2 separate regions of the Homo sapiens genome follow, and region 1 is linked to region 2. Evidence: promoter capture Hi-C in 16 types of primary human blood cells and fetal thymus (Javierre and others, 2016). All regions are on one chromosome and are shown on one strand. Each heading gives the region's core, a stretch centred on a gene start or on the middle of the fragment in contact. The rest is flanking DNA. Distances are from core to core; before and after follow the strand shown. Region 1 has its middle 15 kb from the start of EYA3. Region 2 holds the start of DNAJC8 (DnaJ heat shock protein family (Hsp40) member C8).

Region 1 (3,484 bases), core at 329-2,828, 130 kb before region 2:
ACCTCAAAGTCCTGATCTTTATCAAGAAACTTGAGATGCTATTCACCTAAGTGCTTTAGAGAATGCCAAGCACTAAATTATCCAGCCTGCTTTGTTTAGAAAGACAAGGCTGAGGGTAAGGCCGGGCACGGTGGCTCATGCCTGTAATCCCAGCACTTTGGGAGGCCGAGGCGGGCAGATCACGAGGTCAGGAGATCGAGACCATCCTGGCTAACACGGTGAAACCCCGTCTCTACTAAAAATACAAAAAATTAGCCGGGCGTGGTGGCAGGCGCCTGTAGTCCCAGCTACTCGGGAGGCCGAGGCAGGAGAATGGTGTGAACCCGGGAGGTGGAGCTTGCAGTAAGCCGAGATCGCGCCACTGGACTCCAGTCTGGGCAACAGAGCAAGACTCCTTCTCAAAAAAAAAATAAAAAGACAAGGCCGAGGGTTAGTGAATTTCTACATAAGAGTTACCATAAAATTTAAGATACATCTAAAAGAATTCTGAACTATGTCATCATAAAAATAGACTAAGTCTTTTAATTAAAAAGACAAAGAGCTTTTCTATACTATTGAAATGCTTGTTTTAATAATCCCAGGGAGTATTTACTTGTAATCCTGAGGCTATTAATTTTTATTACAGCAAACTACATTTTTAAAAGAATGTTTAGTATAGGAAATGGTGGTTATTCATTCAAAGCTATAAACTATGTTTGTTTTGGAAGGTTAATTTTACTGCAACCTGGTGATAAATTAACCCACTCACTATGAGCTCACTAATCTAAATCTAATTAGCTTGGCCAGCGTAAAAGTCTAGACAGATTTTCTTAAATTTGGGAATACATCTAAATGCATTCCTTCATGTTAAAAAAAAAGTTTAAAAAGTTATAAGAAAATAAATATAAGACTCAAATAAATTAACTTTAAAGAGCAATGCAGGCCGGGTGCAGTGGCTCACACCTGTAATCCCAGCACTTTGGGAGGCCAAGGCAGGTGGATCACTTGAGGTCAGGCATTCAAGACTAGCCTGGCCAACACGGTGAAACCCCATCTCTATTAAAATACAAAAATTAGCTGGGCGTGGTGGCGCATGCCTGTAGTCCCAGCTACTTGGGAGGCTGAGGCAGGAGAATGGCTTGAACCTGGGAGGTGGAGGTTGCAGTGAGCCAAGATCACACCATTGCGCTCCAGCCTGGGCAGCAGATGGAGACTCTGTCTCAAAAAAAAAAAAAAAAAAGCAATGCAGAGAATGAAAGTCTGATACATGCTACAACACGGCTGAAACTTGAAAACATTCATTATGCTAAATGAAATAAGCCAAATACAAAGGGACATATATTACATGATTCCACTTACACGAGGTACCTAAAATAGGCAAATTCATAGATACAGACGGTACAATAAAGGTTCCCAGAAGCTAGAGGTAGGGAGTAATGGAGGGTTATTGTTTAGTGGTACAGAGTTTTAGTTCGTGATGATAAAAAAAAGTTCCAGAAATTGGCCGGGCGTGGTGGCTCACATCTGTAATCCCAACATTTTGGGAGGCCGAGGCAGACAGATCACGAAGTCAAGAGACTGAGACCATCCTAGCCAATATGATGAAACCCTGTCTCTACTAAAAATACAAAAATTAGCTGTGTGGTGGCGCGTGCCTGTAGTCCCAGCTACTCAGGAGGCTGAGGCAGGAGAATCGCTTGAACCCGGGAGGTGGAGGTTGCAGTGAGCCGAGATCACACCACTGCACTCCAGCCTGGCGACAGAGCAAGACTCCATCTCAAAAAAAAAAAAAAAAAGTTCCAGAAATTGATAGTGGTGATGGTTGTACAACATTGTAAATGTACTTAATGCCATTGATTTGTACACTTTAAAATAGTTAAAACTGTAATCTTATGCATATTTTACCACAATAAAAAATACTATACCAAAAAAATGTAAAAATTTTTTACATGACAGCTAGCCTAAACTCTTCAAAATGTCAATATCATGAAAAATCCACAAATGGAGGGGATTTAGACTAAAAGAGAGTAAAGAGACCCAATAACAAATTGCAATGAGTGAACTTTGATACAATCTTGATTTGGGAAAAAGTCTACAAAATACATTCTTAGGCCGGGTATGATGGTTCACGCCTGTAATCCCAGCACTTTGGGATGCTGAGGCGGGTGGATAACGAGGTCAGGAGTTCGAGACCAGCCTGACCAACATGGTGAAACCCTATCTCTACTAAAAATACAAAAATTAGCCAGGCGTGGTGGCGCATGCCTGTAATCCCAGCTACTCAGGCAGCTGAGGCAGGAGAATCGCTTAAACCCAGGAGGCAGAGGTTGCAGTGAGCCAAGATTGCGCCACTGCACTCTAGCCTGGGCGACAGAGCGAGACTCTGTCTCAAAAAAAAAAAATTCTTTTATCAATTGAGGAAATTTGAAAATGAACTAGCAATTAGAAGATATTATGAGGCAGGGTATGGTGGCTCACCCCTCTAATCCCAGTATTTTTGGAGGCCAAGGCTGGAGGATTGCTTGAGCCTAGGAGTTCGAGACCAGCCTGGGCAACATAGCGAAACCCTGTCTCTACAAATAATACAAAAGAAAAAAATTAGCTAGACATGGTGGCACCTGTGGTCCCAGCTACTCAGGAGGCTGAGGCAGGAGGACCACCTGAACCTAGGAGGTTGAGGCTGCAGTGAGTCGTGATTGCACCACTGCACTTCCAGCCTGGGCGACAGAGTGAGACCCTGTTTCAAAACAAAACAAACAAACAAACAAAACTTCCTGCTACCTAGATCCCTGGAGCTACCCTGTATGCTTTTTCTGAGGCTTGACGTTCAGCTTTCCTTCGGTAAGCTATCCCATATCTTTCCAATAAAATATTTTTGTTGTTGTTGTTATTAAGACCAGAATTGGTCACTGATGTTTTCAATCAATGAACCATGGCTGATCCAATGTCTTATCTATAAAAGACATAGAAAATCGGCATAGTGAAAATTCCTAGCATAAAAAAACTATTGCTTTTATGTAACAGTTTAATATTCTCCAGGCAAGAGGCAAATTACAACTTTGTGAAATGGGCTGTGAGCTACAAAACTAATAAAAATCATTCAGAGGTGAAAAGAATGAAAGGTGAGAGAGGCATTACATGTACTCTGCCTCTGGAATACAATTCCACTTCCCTACCAAAGAAGGCAATGGGAGGAGAAGGAAGCGGAAAGTAGAAAAAGCTTCTCCGGCTCCCCTGAATAGGAATCTGGCAATAATCTGGCTGCTATTTACTAGCATGCAGCATCCGAGGCACTGTGTTAGTCCTTCATATGCAGCGCCTCACTGACTTCTCCCAAGGGCACAATTATTATCTATCATTTGGCTATATATATTCTGATTCTCTCCACTTTACAGAAAACTGGGGCTCAAGGTTGTTAAATCATTAAGTCGAAGTCCCAGAGGTGGGAAGGGCGGGATCCAAACACAAGTGTGTGACTCCAGCGCTGGGGTAGGAGCACCTTGAA
Region 2 (3,326 bases), core at 642-3,141:
AGACGGGAGGATTGCTTGAGCCCAGGAGTTTAAGACCAGCCTGGGCAACACAACAAGACCCTGTCACAACAAAAAAAATACAAAAATCAGCCAGGCATGGTGGCCTGAGCTTGTAGTCCCAGCTACTGATGTGGGAGAATCACTTGAGCCCAGAAGGCAGAGGTTGTGCATTCCAGCTTGGGCAAGAGTGAGGCTCTGTCTCAAAATAAATAAATTAAATTAAATTAACTCTCTTGTTTTTACAGATGTGGAATATGAAGATCTGCAAAATTAATGTCTTGAACAAATTCAATCCCGGCCAGGCGTGGTGGCTCAAGCCTGTAATCCCAGCAACTTTGGGAGGCCGAGGCGGGAGGACCTTAAGTCAGGAGATCAAGACCAGTCTGGCCAACATGGTGAAACCCCCGTCTCTACCAAAAATACAAAAATTAGCCAGGCGTGGTGGCAGGCGCCTGTAATCCCAGCTACTCGGGAGGCTGAGGCGAGAGAATCACTTGAACCAGGGAGGCAGAGGTTGCAGTGGGCCAAGATCGTGCCACTGCACTCCAGGCCTGGGCAACAAGAGCAAAACTCCGCCTTAGGAAAAAAAAAAAGAATTCAATCCCAGTCCAGTCAGGTTAACTGTCTTCCAAGAATTTTTTTCTTTTTTAGACAGTCTCTCGCTCTGTCACCCAAGCTGGAGTGCAGTGGCGCGATCTCTGCTCACTGCAAGCTCTGCCTCCCGGGTTCACGCCATTCTCCTGCCTCAGCCTCCCGAGTGGCTGGGACTACAGGCGCCCACTACCAGGCCCAGCTAATTTTTTGTATTTCTAGTAGAGACGGGGTTTCACCGTGGTCTCGATCTCCTGACCTCGTGATCCGCCCGTCTCGGCCTCCCAAAGTGCTGGGATTACAGGCGTGAGCCACCGCGCCCAACCAAGAATTTTTTTTTCTATCCTTTTTTTCCTTCTTTTTAAAGAGACAGGGTCTCACTCTCGCCAAAAATGGAGTGCAGTGGTCCGATCATAGGTCACTGCAGCCTCGAGCTTTTGGGTTCCTCCCGCCTGGGCCTCCCAAAGTGCTGGGATTACAGATGTGAGCCACTGTGCCCAGCCCCTTGCAATAATTTAATCTGAGATTCTGACTCCAAACGGCATGCTTTTATTTCATTTATTCATTCATTCACTCAACAAATATTTACTGAGCATCCACTACATACTATGCGCTGGAGATGCGATAGTAAAGGAGGCTCAGAACAAGCCCACTGCTGTCCTAACATACCACCAAGCAAGCTGTAACCTACTGTAAGGCCCCAAACTATTTCACCTCCCTAAAGCTCAGGTTCGTCATCTGTAAAATGGGGGTAATATAATGCCTAACTGGCATGATACACAGTGCCTGGCGTTCGTGAATGGCAGAAACAACCACTAAAACAACTCATTACAAAGGACTAAGAAACGTCTCGGGGGCCAAGAAGGCTAAGTCACTCCCAGGAAGGGCCCAGCCTCTGCCAGCCCCCGACTCCGCGGACTTGGGGCACTCTGCCCGCGCGCCCGCACTATGTTGGACACACTCGCCACCTCCCTCGATAGATCGAACACCATTCCCTCTTTCGTTGCCCCGGGGGATCTCCCAGCAGCTATCAGTGGGAGACGCTCACACACCCCCAGACCCCCGCCACCCCGAAGACTGGACTGAAGGAATCGCCCAACGGTCCAGGCCAGGCGGCCACTGCCTTTGTCCACTGGGAAAGCAGATCCGGGAGCGGTCGCCCCGGTGCCACTACTCCTCACTCTGTGTTCACCTCACTGTAGAAGGTCATAAATGCTTCCTCGGTGCTGCCTCCGCCGCCTGAAGTCCCGCTCTCTCCTGAAGCCGCCATTTCCCCGGCCCAGCCACCACGTGACCCTTCTGCGCAGGCGTCGCCTCACGTGATTCTTACAGGTCCGCTCCTCTAGCCCCGCCTCCCGTCTGAGAGGTTCTTAAAGGGCTCGCAGCCCAGCCAGGCACTTTAAAAGTAGGTGGGCTTTTTAAAATTTAAACGAATTACACATAACATATAATTAACCACTTTAAAGTAAATAATGTGCTTAAGTTATTGTTAGGTAAAAAATAATAAGAAGAATAAAAGAAAAAGTGAATAATTCAGTGGGTTTATTTATTTATTTATTTTTGAGACAGGATCTCTGTCGTCCAGGCTGGAGTCGAGTGGTGCAATCACAGCTCACTGCAGCCTCGACCTCCCAAGCTCAAGCGATCCTCTCACTTCAGCCTCCCGAGTAGCTGGGACTGCAGGCGCGCGCCACCATGCCCGGCTAATTTTATGTACTTTTGTGGAGACGGGGTCTTGCCATGTTGCCCAGGCCTCCCAAAGTACAGGAATTACAGGCATGAGCCACCGCGCCGGACCGGCTCAGCTGTCTTCAGAACATTCACAATGTTCTGCAACCACCATGTCTACCTGGTTCCAAAATAGTTTCATCACCTCAAAAGGAGACTTAGTATCTACTTTTTTTTTTTAGACGGAGTCTCACTCTGTCACCCAGGCTGGAGTGCAGTGGCGCCTCCCCGGTTCCAGAAATTCTGCCTTAGCCTCCCGAGTAGCTGAGATTACAGACAAACGCCACCATGCCCCGCTAATTTTTATATTTTTAGTAAAGCCGGATGTTCACCATGTTGGCCAGGATGGTCTACGATCTCCTGACGTCGTAATCCGCTCGCCTTGGCCTCCCAAAGTGCGGGGATTACAGGCGTGAGCCACCGCGCCTGGCCGAGGAGACCTAGTACCTATTAAGCAGTTACTCCCTATTCGCCCCCTCTCCCCAGTCCCTGAAAACAAGCAATCTGTGTTCTATCTATATGGATTTACCTATTCTGGATATTTCACATAAATGGAGTTAAACAATATGTGAATACGTATTTCACATAAATGGAATTAAACAAAATACCAGGTAGGGCTGCTATTTTCTCAACTAAAATATAATCAATAAAGCCAGTTTTACTATTTCATAGAAAACAAAGAAGGTTTTGTTTTGTTTTGTTTTTTTGAGGCAGAGGCTTGCTCTGTTGCCCAGGCTGGAGTGCAGTGGCATGATCTTGGCTCACTGCAACCGCCGCCTCCCAGGTTCAAGCAATTCTCCTGCCTCAACCTCCTGAGTAGCTGAGATTACAGGCGCATGTCACCACGCCCGGCTGATTTTTGTATTTTTAGTAGAGACGGAGTTAGTCAGGCTGATCTCGAACTCCTGACCTCATGATCCATGCGCCTCGGCCTCCCGAAGTGCTGGGATTACAGGTGTGAGACACCACGCCCAGCCCCAAAGAAGGTATTTTTATAATCATCAATC

What was found. The method cuts DNA at HindIII sites, captures the fragments that hold promoters and counts their contacts. A CHiCAGO score of 5 or more calls a contact.
Region 1: a fragment that was not itself captured here is called in contact with the fragment with the promoter of DNAJC8 in region 2 in 1 of 17 cell types (endothelial precursors); the score reaches 6.1 in endothelial precursors.

Annotation. Positions count from the first base shown.
Region 1 is chr1:28,101,706-28,105,189 of GRCh38, forward strand. No RefSeq gene overlaps it. Among named protein-coding and RNA genes, the nearest start is that of EYA3, 15 kb to the left of the region's middle. The HindIII fragment of the contact is 3,238 bases long and covers 1-3,197 here.
Region 2 is chr1:28,231,138-28,234,463 of GRCh38, forward strand. DNAJC8 (DnaJ heat shock protein family (Hsp40) member C8) reads right to left here and starts at 1,892. Exons shown (of 9, transcript NM_014280.3): 1 at 1,784-1,892. The coding sequence starts at 1,861. RefSeq lists an enhancer at 1,582-2,115. The HindIII fragment of the contact is 12,029 bases long and covers 1-3,326 here.